Regions from separate parts of the Homo sapiens genome. Here all the other regions are linked to region 2. Evidence: promoter capture Hi-C in 16 types of primary human blood cells and fetal thymus (Javierre and others, 2016). All regions are on one chromosome and are shown on one strand. The core of a region is centred on a gene start or on the middle of the fragment in contact, and the rest is flanking DNA. Distances in the headings are between cores, read along the strand shown.

The links. The method cuts DNA at HindIII sites, captures the fragments that hold promoters and counts their contacts. A CHiCAGO score of 5 or more calls a contact.
Region 1: a contact is called between a fragment that was not itself captured here and the fragment with the promoter of SGO1-AS1 in region 2, in 1 of 17 cell types (total CD4 T cells). The highest score is 5.2, in total CD4 T cells.
Region 3: a contact is called between a fragment that was not itself captured here and the fragment with the promoter of SGO1-AS1 in region 2, in 1 of 17 cell types (neutrophils). The highest score is 5.3, in neutrophils.

The regions. Positions count from the first base shown.
Region 1 is chr3:20,106,074-20,110,721 of GRCh38, forward strand. All of the region lies in intron 5 of KAT2B (lysine acetyltransferase 2B), which reads left to right. Among named protein-coding and RNA genes, the nearest start is that of MIR3135A, 29 kb to the right of the region's middle. The HindIII fragment of the contact is 1,557 bases long and covers 2,309-3,865 here.
Region 2 is chr3:20,173,002-20,175,535 of GRCh38, forward strand. SGO1-AS1 (SGO1 antisense RNA 1) reads left to right here and starts at 1,285. Exons shown (of 4, transcript NR_132785.1): 1 at 1,285-1,524; 2 at 1,734-1,817. SGO1 (shugoshin 1) reads right to left here. Exons shown (of 8, transcript NM_001199251.3): 6 at 1,248-2,054. The HindIII fragment of the contact is 5,926 bases long and covers 1-2,534 here.
Region 3 is chr3:20,079,458-20,084,597 of GRCh38, forward strand. All of the region lies in intron 2 of KAT2B (lysine acetyltransferase 2B), which reads left to right. Among named protein-coding and RNA genes, the nearest start is that of KAT2B, 42 kb to the left of the region's middle. The HindIII fragment of the contact is 3,959 bases long and covers 784-4,742 here.

The DNA of each region.
Region 1 (4,648 bases), core at 1,837-4,336, 65 kb before region 2:
GTTTATTCCTGAAAACCACAGGATTTTCAGTTCAGCAAGTCAGTAGAATGACATGGTCTTCTGTGTTCACATTTTTAATTTCTGTTCACAGAAGTTACAAATCATCATCATGATGTGAAAAATCTGGGAGTTATTTGAACAGTAAGAAAATAGCATGCAAATACCATCTTTATTAGACATACAAAAATGAACGAACTATCATTTTGCTTCTTTTTAGTAGACCCGAAATCAGTCATGTAGGTAAAATCTTTTCTACAGTTACTTCTTTGGAGGAATACATGTGCTCATGCACGTCCGTTTCCTTCTTTCTGTCTCACTGTGTGCAATAATAATATCAATCAATTTATTAAAACAACACCAGAAGTACACACACACACACACACACACACACATTCTGTCTCTCTCACACACACACACATTGACTCAGCCTCATTGTCTTAATCTACAGTGAATTTAACAGAGTACAAAATAAGATTAATCTTGGAAGTTAAGAAAAAGCTGAAAAGTATAAATTGAGGTCTATAAAATGACTTTGAGGAAATGAATGAAAGCCCATTATTTGAACATTTTTACTAGCTAATAACAATCTATGCTGTCTTCTACCCTGGGAAGATTGAATAACCTGTTAAAGCACTTTTGGATAACTTTTTAGGATTTTATGATAATATTTATAACCTATCATCTTTGTATCAGAAATAATGTCAGTCTTAGAGCCTTAGACGTTTGCAGATCTCTCCTCAGATGGAAATGCTGTTTAGACTCTAAATCAGCACTGTCCAGTAGATATATAATATGAGCCAAAAATGCAAGCCAGATATATAATTAAAAATTTTCTAGTAGCTACGTATAAAATGAATAGATATAAGAAATTATTCTGAATTTTATGTGTATATATATATATATATGTATATATATATATATATATATATATATATATATATATTTTTTTTTTTTTTTTTTTTTTTTTTTTTTTTTTTGAGACGGAGTCTTGCTGTGTCTCCCAGGCTGGGGTGCAGTGGTGCAATCTTGGCTCACTGCAACCTCCACCTCCTGGGTTCAAGCCATTCCCGTCTCTGCCTCCCGAGTAGCTGGGATTACAGGCATGCGCCACCACAGCTGGCTCATTTTTGTATTTTTAGTAGAGACGGCGTTTCACCATGTTGGCCAGGCTGATCTCGAACTCCTGACCTTAAGTAATCTGCCCTCCTCGGCCTCCCAAAGTGCTGGGATTATAGGCATGAGCCACCAGACCTGGCCAATAATATATATATTTTTTACCCAATATATAAAAAATGCCATTTCAGCTGGGAGCGGTGGCCCACGCCAGTAATCCTAGCACTTTGGGAGGCCAAGGCGGATGGATCACTTGACGTCAGGAGTTCAAGACCAGCCTGGCCAACATGGTGAAACCCTGTCTCTATTAAAAATACAAAAATTAGCCAGGCATGGTGGCGGGCACCTGTAATCCCAGCTACTTGGGAGGCTGGGGCAGGAGAGTTGCTTGAATGGGGAGGTGGAAGTTGCAGTGAGTCGAGATCATGCCATTGCCCTCCAGCCTGGGGCACAGAGCAATACTATGTCTCAAAAAAAAAAAAAAAACCACAAAAACAAAAAACCCACAAAAATATAATTTCACCATGTAACCATTGTGAAAAATTATTAAGGATGTATACTTACTTTCTTAGTACTGAGTCCTTCAAACCTCCAAATCCAGTGTTTATTTTGCTTTTTCCTTTTTTTTTTTTTTTTTTTTGAGTTGGAGTCTTGCTGTGTTTCCCAGGCTGGAGTGCAGTGGTATGATCTGAGCTCACTGCAACCTTCGCCTCCCAGGTTCAAACGATTCTCCTGCCTCAGGCTGCCAAGTAGCTGGGACTACAGGCGCCTGCCACCATGCCTGGCTAATGTTTATATTTTTTAGTAGAGATGGGGTTTCATCATGTTCCCCAGGCTGGTCTTGAATTCTTGACCTCCGGTAATCCACCTGCCTCAACTTCCCAAAGTCCTGGGATTACAGGTGTGAGCCACTGCACCCGGCCAAATCCAGTGTGTATTTTTCACACATCTTAATTCAGTAGCTAAATTTTAAACAATTAAAACTAAATGGAGTCCTACTAGAACAATCAAGTTGTGTTTAATGGGAAAACATTTTACACTGTTTCCATTTAAAAGTAAAATTGAAATTGATTAAATAAAATTAAAAGTTAAACTCAGTCATACTAGCCACATTTCAAGTGCTCAATAGTTACCAATGGCTGGTGGCTACTGTATTGGATAGCAGAGACATAGAATCATCCCCATCATCAGTGAAAGCTTTATTGGACAATAAATCTTTAAACCTTTCATTGCAGAAGATTGGACATATTTTGTTATTTTTAAAATTTAGGATCTGCATAACAACATTTTAGTCAGCAATGGACCACATATAATGACAGTAGTCCTTTAAGATTATGCCAAAATTTTGCTGTACCTTTCCATGTTTAGGTATATTTAGATATACAAATACTTACCATTATGTTACAGTCGTTTGTAGTATTCAGTACAGTAATATGCTGTAGAGGTTTGCAGCCTAAGAGCAATAGACTAGACCATAGAGCAGGGGTCCCCCACCCCTGGGCCATGGTCCACCATAGGTCCGTGGCTCATTAGGAACCGGGCTGCACAGCAGGAAGTGAGTGGTGGGCGAGTGAGCATTACAGCCTGAGCTCCACCTCCTGTCAGATCAGTGGTGGCATTAGATTCTCATAGGAGCCTGAACTCTATTGTGAACTGTGCATGTGAGGGATCTAAGCTGTACATTCTTTCTGAGAGTCTAATGCTTGATGATCTGAGGTGGAACAGTTTCATCTGGAAACCATCCCTTCTACCCCCAGCCATGGAAAAATTGTCTCTCATGAAAGCAATCCCTGGTGCCAAAAAAGTTGGGGACCTCTGCCATAGAGCCTAGGTGCCAAGTGTGTAGTAGGTTCTACCATCTAGGTTTGTGTAGGTACACTCTCCAGTGTTTGCACAATGATAAAATCACCTGACTCATTTCTCAGAATGTATTCCCGTTGTTAAGCAAGACATGAAAGACATGACCATATTAATTCTTACAGATAGTCTTGTGATTGCCTAAGTCTCACGAAATTGAACTTCTGATTATGAAGATCTGTGACTGTTTAACTCTATGGTTTCATTACTAGTTATTTGATCTGACTTCCCCTCAGCCCCAGATAGATAGATAGATAGATAGATAGATAGATAGATAGATAGCATGTCAGTGTCTCATTCTGTCACTCTGTCACCCAGGCTGCATTGCAGTGGCACAATCATAGCTCACAGCAGCCTAGAACTCCTAGGTTCAAGTGATCCTACCTCCTCAGCCTCCCAAGTAGCTAGGAATATAGGTATGTGCCAATACATCTGGCTGATTTTTAAACTTTTTGTAGAGATGGGCGTCTTACTATGTTGCCCAGGCTGGTCTTGAACTCCTGGGCTCAAGCGATCTTCCTGCTTGGGCCTTCCAAAGCACTGGGATGACTGGTGTAAGCCACCATGCCATGCCTAGCCAGCCCATTCTTTTAACTTAATTAAGTGGCCACAGACTAACATCTAGCAAACAATTGGCTTTGAAAGCAATGAATTTCTATATGAAGCACCTTATGAATTACAAAATAAATGCACTTTATAATTTTTTTCTGCTACCAAGATCACTGTTTCAGACAAAAGACAACATTAACACTTAAGATACCCATTTCAGTATTGTAAACATAAACAACATTTGGGTGTAAATTATTAAAGGAAAAAAGTTGAGAGAAGACATAGAAATAGTAGCAGAAATTTTAGGTTAATTTTTAATGTAGGCAGATGAACTAACACTAATGAAAGCTTTTTCTCCAAAGGTGAACCACTGCCACAGCCACCACCATTTCCACCACTAGCACACATACAGGCAAAATATTTTATAATGCAGAATAAGATTTAAAAAAAAAAGTCAGGAGCATGAATAAATTAATATTATTCCTCTCTTCATTAAAGGGCTCAAAGTTCATTGGGAGCTTTTTGTAGCAGCTTGGGCGCATTAGAAAGCTGTCTCCCATTTGAAAGGAGAACAGGAAAGCACATAGGGAGGAGAGGTTTGATTTTTGGAAGGCAGTCCTTTCCTAGAAGAGGATGATTTGGGTCTGCTCTGAAGGAATAAGAATCTGTGGAATAATGCTTTTTGACCTTTTCCTCGTTTGGTGCCACCCTCCATGGCTACCACTGTTATATTTATGTTTTTGGGTCCTGGGAAATTCACATCTTCACTTCTGGGAGATAAAAAAAAAATAGGGTTGTCTCAGTTTGGTAGCTCATGCCTGTAATCACAGCACTTTGGGAAGCCGAGGTGGGTGGATCTCTTTAGTCCAGGAGTTCGAGACAATCCTGGGCAACATAGTGAAACCCCGTCTTTACAAAAAATAAGAAAAAATTAGCCACATGTGGTGGTGCATGCCTGTGGTCCCAGTTGTTTGGCAGGCTGAGGTAGGAGGGTCACTTGAGCCCAGGAGGTAGAGGTTGCAGTGAGCCGAGATTGTACCACTGCACTCCAGCCTTGGTGACACAGTGAGACCCTGTCTCAAAAAAAAAAAAAAAAAAAGAAAGAAAAAGAAAGAAAAAGAGGTTTATT
Region 2 (2,534 bases), core at 35-2,534:
TTTTCTGGACATTTTTAAATGTACACAAAGATGGCAATAACAGTATAATAAACTCTGAGTTACCCAGGTCCAATAATTATCAACACTTTGACAATCATGTTTGATTTATTCTAACATCATTATAGCATTTTTGCTTTTTTTTTTTTTGAGACTGAGTTTCGCTCTTGTTGCCTAGGCTGGAGCGCAATGGCATGGTCTCGGCTCACTGCAACCTCTGTTTCCTGGGTACAAGCAATTCTTTTTCTCCTGCCTCAGCCTCCCGAGTAGCTGGGATTACCGGCACATACCACCAGGCCTGGCTCATTTTTTTGTATTTTTAGTAGAGATGGGGTTTCACCATGTTGGCCAGGCTGGTCTTGGACTCCTGACCTCAGGTGATCCGCCCACCTCAGCCTCCCAAAGTGCTGGGATTACAGGCGTGAGCCAACCCGCCCGGCTTACAGCATATTTTTAAAAAAGATACTTGCCTGCTACCACTGACTAACTGGCCGATTTAGAAAGTTGGTTTGGTTTTTAAGGTTTTAATCTCCTTACAAACAAAATAAGCATCATAACACCTATACTTCACAGAATTGTTCTGAGGATCAAATAAAATGATGTGACAATATTTTGAAAATGATACAACTTGACTATAAATGTTAGTTTTACTTGTATTAACTAAAATTGCCAAATGAGAATCTTTGTGGACAGGTGTAGGTTGTATTACGAACATTTGAACTATGCCTACTTTTGATCTAATAAAATATTTTCTGAGCCAGTTTTTAGAGATGTCGTACAAAAGAATACTAAGCCTATCAATTGAGGAAATCTTCACTAACTAGAAGATTATTTTAAATCACGGTTCCTGTCAAATTTAATATAAAACAAGGCCATTAAAATAACAAGTCACTGGATTCAAATTTGATTTCACTTTCAAGGGGATACTTCAGTTAAGTGTATAAAAGCTACTTCAATTCAACCTAAGTCTACAAAAAAGTCCCTCTGTCCCCTTGGGAGTCCTAATTTACTGAAAATAAAAATTCTGTCTCCATAACAAGCAATCTCTGAATTAGGTCAGAGCAATACAACTGTGATTTCCACACCCAGCCCCCCACTGTTTAATCAGACCATAACTTCCACCAAAGAGAGACAGATGGTAAGTCTCCAACCTCCACCAGAGAAACAGATGGTAAGTATAGTATATAAGCATCAGGAGTGATCATTTATCACGAACATTAAAAATACAGGTAAACAAGTAGATCACTTACTGGTAGGAGTTTTTGTTGGCTTAGAACCCTCCGTCTCTTTTTCATCTGTGTATTTCAGTGCTCTTTTAGCTAGAGGCCTGGTGACTGGTCTATCTGAATTGCTCGTGGGATTCTGAATGTACTTGCAAGTGGGCAAATAGAGGTCATCGGAATCATCTCCTGAACCACTTGATTCACAGAGGCTCACTTCAGACTCGTTGTTTTCTTCTCTATTAGAGTCATTGCTCACTTTTTGTCGGAAAGGAGTAAGATGAACACCCTCTTCCAAATTAAAATTGTAAGCATCATTGGAACTGACAGATTTGTGCATTTTTTTTTGGGGAACAGTTTTTTTATTTTCGCTTTTATTCTCTTTATATTTTGACATACGTTTTGATTTTCTCCTGTTAGCTTTTCTTTTCTCTTCTCTTTTTCTTTCTTGTGTATCTCTTTGCTTACTTTTAGTTTGTTCAGATTTAGATTCTAAAATGTCTTCTTTTGTTTTAGTAAACGTTCCTGGCTGAATCAGCTTTGGTGATAAGTTAACTTGGTCCTTGCTCCATTGACAAGCATTGTGTTGTACATTTTCAGGTATGTGCATGTTTACTAGTGGGTCTAAAAATCCAACTCTTTCGAATTCAAAAGACTTCCCTGCCAAATGACTGGTTTCAAAATCATCCAAGCTATCAAACTGACATATACTGTTACAATGTTTCTTTAAACTGCTACGAACAGATACAGTTCTAGGTAAGACATTATCAGTAGACTTAGCTTCACCTGAATCAAAATCAACTCCCAGTGTGTCTTGAGGAATAGTAGGTATCTGATCTGAGAATTTAAAAAATAAATGAGAAAAGTAGTTTTACTTTGTGGAAATTTGAATTTCAAGAACTTTAGAATTCAAACTAAAAAAGTGAATGACCAAAAGGTCATTCTGTAGTTTTCCTACATTATAAAATCTGTAAATAAAAACCTGGGAACTTAAATATTACCATCTATTTACTTGTCAGTGATCAACTGATGGCTTATATCTGACATGTGAAAGAATCTTGTACAGGTTCAGTATCCCTAATCTGAAAATCTGAAATCCAAAACTTTTTTAGTGCAGTCATGATGCTCCAAGGAAATGCTAACTGGAGGGTTTTGGATTTCAGATTTTCAAATTAGGGATGATGAACTGATATAATGTAAATACTCCAAAATTTAAAAAATAAATCCAAAACACTTCTGGTCCCAAGCATTTTGGATAAGGGACATTCAATCTTTATAATCTTTAAAAACATTATAGGCCAGGCACGGTGGCTTACG
Region 3 (5,140 bases), core at 1,513-4,012, 92 kb before region 2:
CCTCCCCAAATGCTGGGATTACAGGCGTGAGCCACCGCTTCTGGCCTGAGACTCCCAGAGATTTTTAAGGAAGGTCAAGAGTTAGCTTTAACAATCACACTAGAGCTTACTTCTTGAGTATTATGAAGAAAATACCAGTATTTTTCTCATGGATATTTCAAGTATTTAAATCATTTAGGCAGATCATTTGACTCAACACATTTTCTTTGATCATACGACATTTGCATAGACTTGTACCATATAATTGCCCCCTCAGTTCCCATTTATACATGTACTGTGCAGATGCCAAAGGACGTAAACATGGGGCCCAGCTAGCACAATGACACAGCCTCCTGAATTGAGCCAGCATATTCCTCTTGGCTGGATGTCCACTGCTGGCTAATGCAGCCTTTCAGATGCCGGTTTCAGAGTTTTCAGGAGCTGTGGGTCGGGCACAGCAGGAGTTAAGGGGATAATACTGGTAATATTTTCTCTGCTCATTTGGTATAAGTTATGTCTCCCTGACGTCCTCTGGTCATGAAATCCTGTTTGATACTCCCTTCAAGTTCCTGCCTCTAGCACTGGCTGAATTTAGGCTTTTCCTCATTATTCCTTGCCTGTGTCTGCTGCAGCTTCTGGAGTTCTTATTTCCATTCCTGCATACCTGGCTTTCCCATAAAGTGATGATACAATGTGATCCCATTCTCCTGCTTAACCCCTCTGAGCTTCTCATTATCCTCAGAGTGAAGGGTGATCTGTAGTTGAGCAAGCAGGTTCAGTTCATTGAGGCCTCTTTATTTTCAAAGCTTTTCTCCAATTATCTTCATTGCATTTTGGCCATCAGGCTGCTCCATGTTCTCCAAAGGTTCTTTGAACTTTCTCCCACCTCTGCCTTAGATCTGGAAGCTCACACCACCTTCAATGCCTTTCCTTCATTTTCTGCCAGGGAATTCTGCTTATCCTCCAAGGCTTGACTGCAGAACTCTGTAGAGAGAATAAAGGCCTTCTTAGAGCTCTGTGGCAATGTTCCTTCTTATATAACTATAATTATATACCAATCTGTACTGAACTGTGATTAAGAGTTGACTTTTTCTCTAGTTTGTAATATATTTAGTTCGTTGTGCATAATTGTGCTTATTCTTTTGTTGGTAAATAGTCATTGAATTCAATAATGGTAAAATGAGGGCTGGTTGCATATATTTGCAGAGGAGCTTTCAAAGTTTATAATCTATACCTGCTGTGTCCAACACAGTAGCCACTAGCCATGTGTGGCTATTGAACACTTGCAATTTCACTAGTTTGAATTGTGCTGTAAGCGTGAAATGCACACAGGTTTTGAAGACTTAGTACAAGAAGAGGAATGTAAATAGTAACTTTTAATATTGCATACGTATTGAAAGAATAATACTTTGGTATATATTAGGTTAAATAAAATATATTATTTAATGAATTTCACCTGCTTCTTTTGTCTTTTTAAACACAGCTACTGGAATACTTAAATTTACATATGTGGCTTGCATTATATTTCTACTGGACTGCTCTCATCTAATGGGCTCTTACTCTTAGGCTTCTCTTTTTTTTCATTCCAGATCTGAGATTACAGAAAATGAAACCACTTTTAAATGATAAGCCTTTTGCACATTAGTCAATTTGACAGATTTCATTGTAGTCATTAATTTTACCTCTTCTAGCCTCGATGCCAAATTCCCATGAACAAAAAATGTATTTGAGCAGCCTTCAAATCCTATTGTGTTATTTGCTTCTGGTCCAGAGGAGCAGGGACATGTTAGCTGCCTGCCCAGCTGCTGCCTGTTCACACTGCAGGGCATGTGAGGACTGGCTGACTGTCTTCACGAGAAGTGCAGGCCAATGATACACGGAGCCAGAGGTTAGTGAGGGTCACGGCACACAGTGACAGTGTGCTTCCTGTTCTCAGCAAGGTTGACAGCTGCACCGTGATTCTTGGCAGCAGTCACACGGCGGGTCACTCTCTGGCACCCTGGGTGTTTGCAAGTCTGACACAGCACTGAGAGGTGCCAAGGTATACCCTTCTGGAGTGATCTAAAGAAGGCAAAGCCTCCCCTCGTCCCCTCACTTGCACCTTCTGTCTGCTTTCTTGTGCCCTTCACACAAAGTGGACACTGGGGGAACTGTGGCCCACCAAAAGGAATAAACTTTGCCACAGCTCAAGGGTTGGTCAATCTTGGGTAATTAGTGTATATCAATGCTTTGTATCAGGCTCTTGGAAGACTATTTAAAGTAAAAGCAGGATTCTTTAATGATCAAATTCAGGTGGAGGAAAGATTGTAAAAACACTTTTAATTTGCAAATAATTAAAAATTTACATAAAAGTCATGAGAATAATAACGAAGAATATCCCATAAATCCTTTCCCTAGATTTACCTATTAGTAACATTTTATTTTATTTGCTGTCATTGGCTCATATATATATATGTATAAATGTATATAGAGAGTCTCATATATATATATATATGAGTCTCTACGTATAAATTTGTTTTTCTGGAACTATATGAGAATAAGTTACTTATATATCATAGCCCTTCCTCCCCTAAATATTTCAATATACAGTTCCTAATAATAAGGTTTTCTTTTTTTGAAATGGAGACCCACTCTGTTGCTCAGGCTGGAGTGCAATGGTGCAGTCTTGGCTTACTGCAGCCTCCACCTCCTGGGTTCAAATGATTCTCATGCCTCAGCCTCCCAAGTAGCTGGGATTACAGATGCCTGCCACCATGCCCAGCTAATTTTTTTATTTTTAGTAGAGATGGGGTTTCATCATGTTGGCCAGGCTGGTCTCGAACTACTGACCTCAAATGATCCGCCCTCCTCAGCCTCCCAGAGTGTTGGGATTACAGGCTTGAGCCACTGCACCCGGCCACGGTTTTCTCTTAATAACCTCAGTTCAATTACCAACTTTAGTAAATTTAACATTAATATAATACCTTTATCTAATCTACTGTTTGTATTCTAATTTTATCTGTTGACCCAAAAATGTTCTTTATAACATATTTTCCTTTCCATTAAGCCTCCACTCAAGAATCACATATCTGTTTAGTTGTCATGTCTCTTTAGTTTTCTTTAATCTGGAGTTCCTCAGCATTTTATTTTATTTGTTGACTTTTATAACATTGACATTTTGATGGAGGAATGTTTTAAATTTTAAAAACAAACTCTTTAAAGAGCTAGGAAAAATACATTTTTTGTTATTTTTTGTTTATGTAGGAAAAACCTTTGCAAGCAAAACCTTAAAGAACTGCCAACGTAGATATGGCTTTCTAAAAAGATTAACATTTTTCTACAACCAAACCAAATAAACCAAAAATCCCTCCCCACCAAATACGTAAGCATTTGCAATGAGTATGGCAGACTAAAGGTAGTACATAAGGTTTATTCAAGGTGGTAAGAAAAAGACTAACATCTTAAAAACCAAGCAAAGGAACTCAAATTGGCAGGTACACAGGAGATCAAATACAAACAGCCAGTAGTATGAAAAACAAACAACTCCCTGGGCCTTCCGTTGAATGCAGATCAAAACAGTAGGGGGTGCTTATTAATTTTCAAAAGATTGGTTAAATTACCGAGGATGGTTCTCCACTGTAGGCAGAGCACAGGAAAAAGGAATAGTCTCTCACTACTGATACAGTGTACATTGATGCACATCTTGATGAGGGAGGTTAAATTAGGGAGCGATACATCAAAGTTTTACATAGCAGCGACTTCATATCTTGAGTTTTGTGGCAGGTTGACTGCTATAGATTTGTGCATTGTAGTTTATAGATTTTTATTTTATTTTTTAGTTTTTAATAATATGCTCCTAGACTCATAAATAATAGAGGCCTATCTCTTTAAGAAAACATACTTTTAGATAATTGAAGGGAGCCTATTTGCATCAAAAAGTCTTCTTAATAAAAGGTTAAGAGAAGGGTTTCTTTTAATAATGAATGACTCTTTTTGGTTTAATATGAATTGATTGTCAGTATAGTAAATAGTTTAGCTTTGCAGTTAGAGTGAGGTTCACCTGGGTGTTGACATGGGTTGGGATTAATTAGGAGACTGGTAAATCTAGAGATAAGTTAAACAAGTCTAATTCTGGTCAGCATCCCCAAAGAGCCAGGAGTAGTCTCTGGATCTGGTAGAGATGGGGTTGTTTAAGGAAAGTGGTATTTTAGGAAGACTACCCTGGCAGCAGAGAGAACAGTCTAGGGGGCTATTTTATTATAGTAGGTTTGACATTCCAATGGAAGAAAGGTAGGATGGGGAAATGCAGTGTCTCTGAGAGAGAATGAGGAAGCTCAGTGGAGTCTGGTGGCTGGTAATGTGTGGAAGGTAAAGGACACTAAAGGAATGAATGATGGGCTTGTTGGCAGAAACAGGGCCAGCAAGAGGTAGCTGCCATTTTGAGGAGGGCCATGAGGAGTTCAGTCTTTGAGTCATTTTCCGTGATGGTGGTGCACCTATTTTGTTGGGATAGGGAGGATGGAAGGTGGGGTTCGGGGAAGATTGGAGCTGGAGAAGAGGTTAGCTGGTGATGTGTATTTGTTGAGAACAGAAAGTTCAGCGCTACTTCCTCAGAGATTGAGTTAGGTGAGAGCTGAAAAGGATTTTTGGTCAAAAGGGATCTGTAGTTGGCCTCCTTGGAGAGGGGCTACATTGGAGGGTCTGAGAAGTTGGCACATTTAGACAACTACGTATTTATATAGTGTAGTCATAGCTGTTCTTGTCTGGCTTTCTTATTACAGGGAAGCTTCTCTTTGATAACAACTTGTCTGGACCTTTTTCCACCCTTCTCCAGCAGACTGTCCACTCCATCTACTTTCATTTGATCTTCCTCCACCTCATTGTTTATTCTAGGAAGCTTAACCTTTCTCATACAATATTCTCCTGCTTCAGTGCTCCCCCTACCACTCCAGACCTGCGTTTATTTCATTCTCAGAGTAAGAGCTATCCTCTTCTGCTATGAAAGTTACTCACCCTTTGTACAGGGGAGCCTCTTTCTTCTCTTCTGGGAAACTGTTGCTGCTTTATTTACATTTTCCCCCATCTCCATCTCCCTATTCCTTTCTACTTTGGGTTTCATACAGAGCTCTGAGGAGAGATCACATATTGCATTATGGTAATAAATAAATAAATAATTAATAAA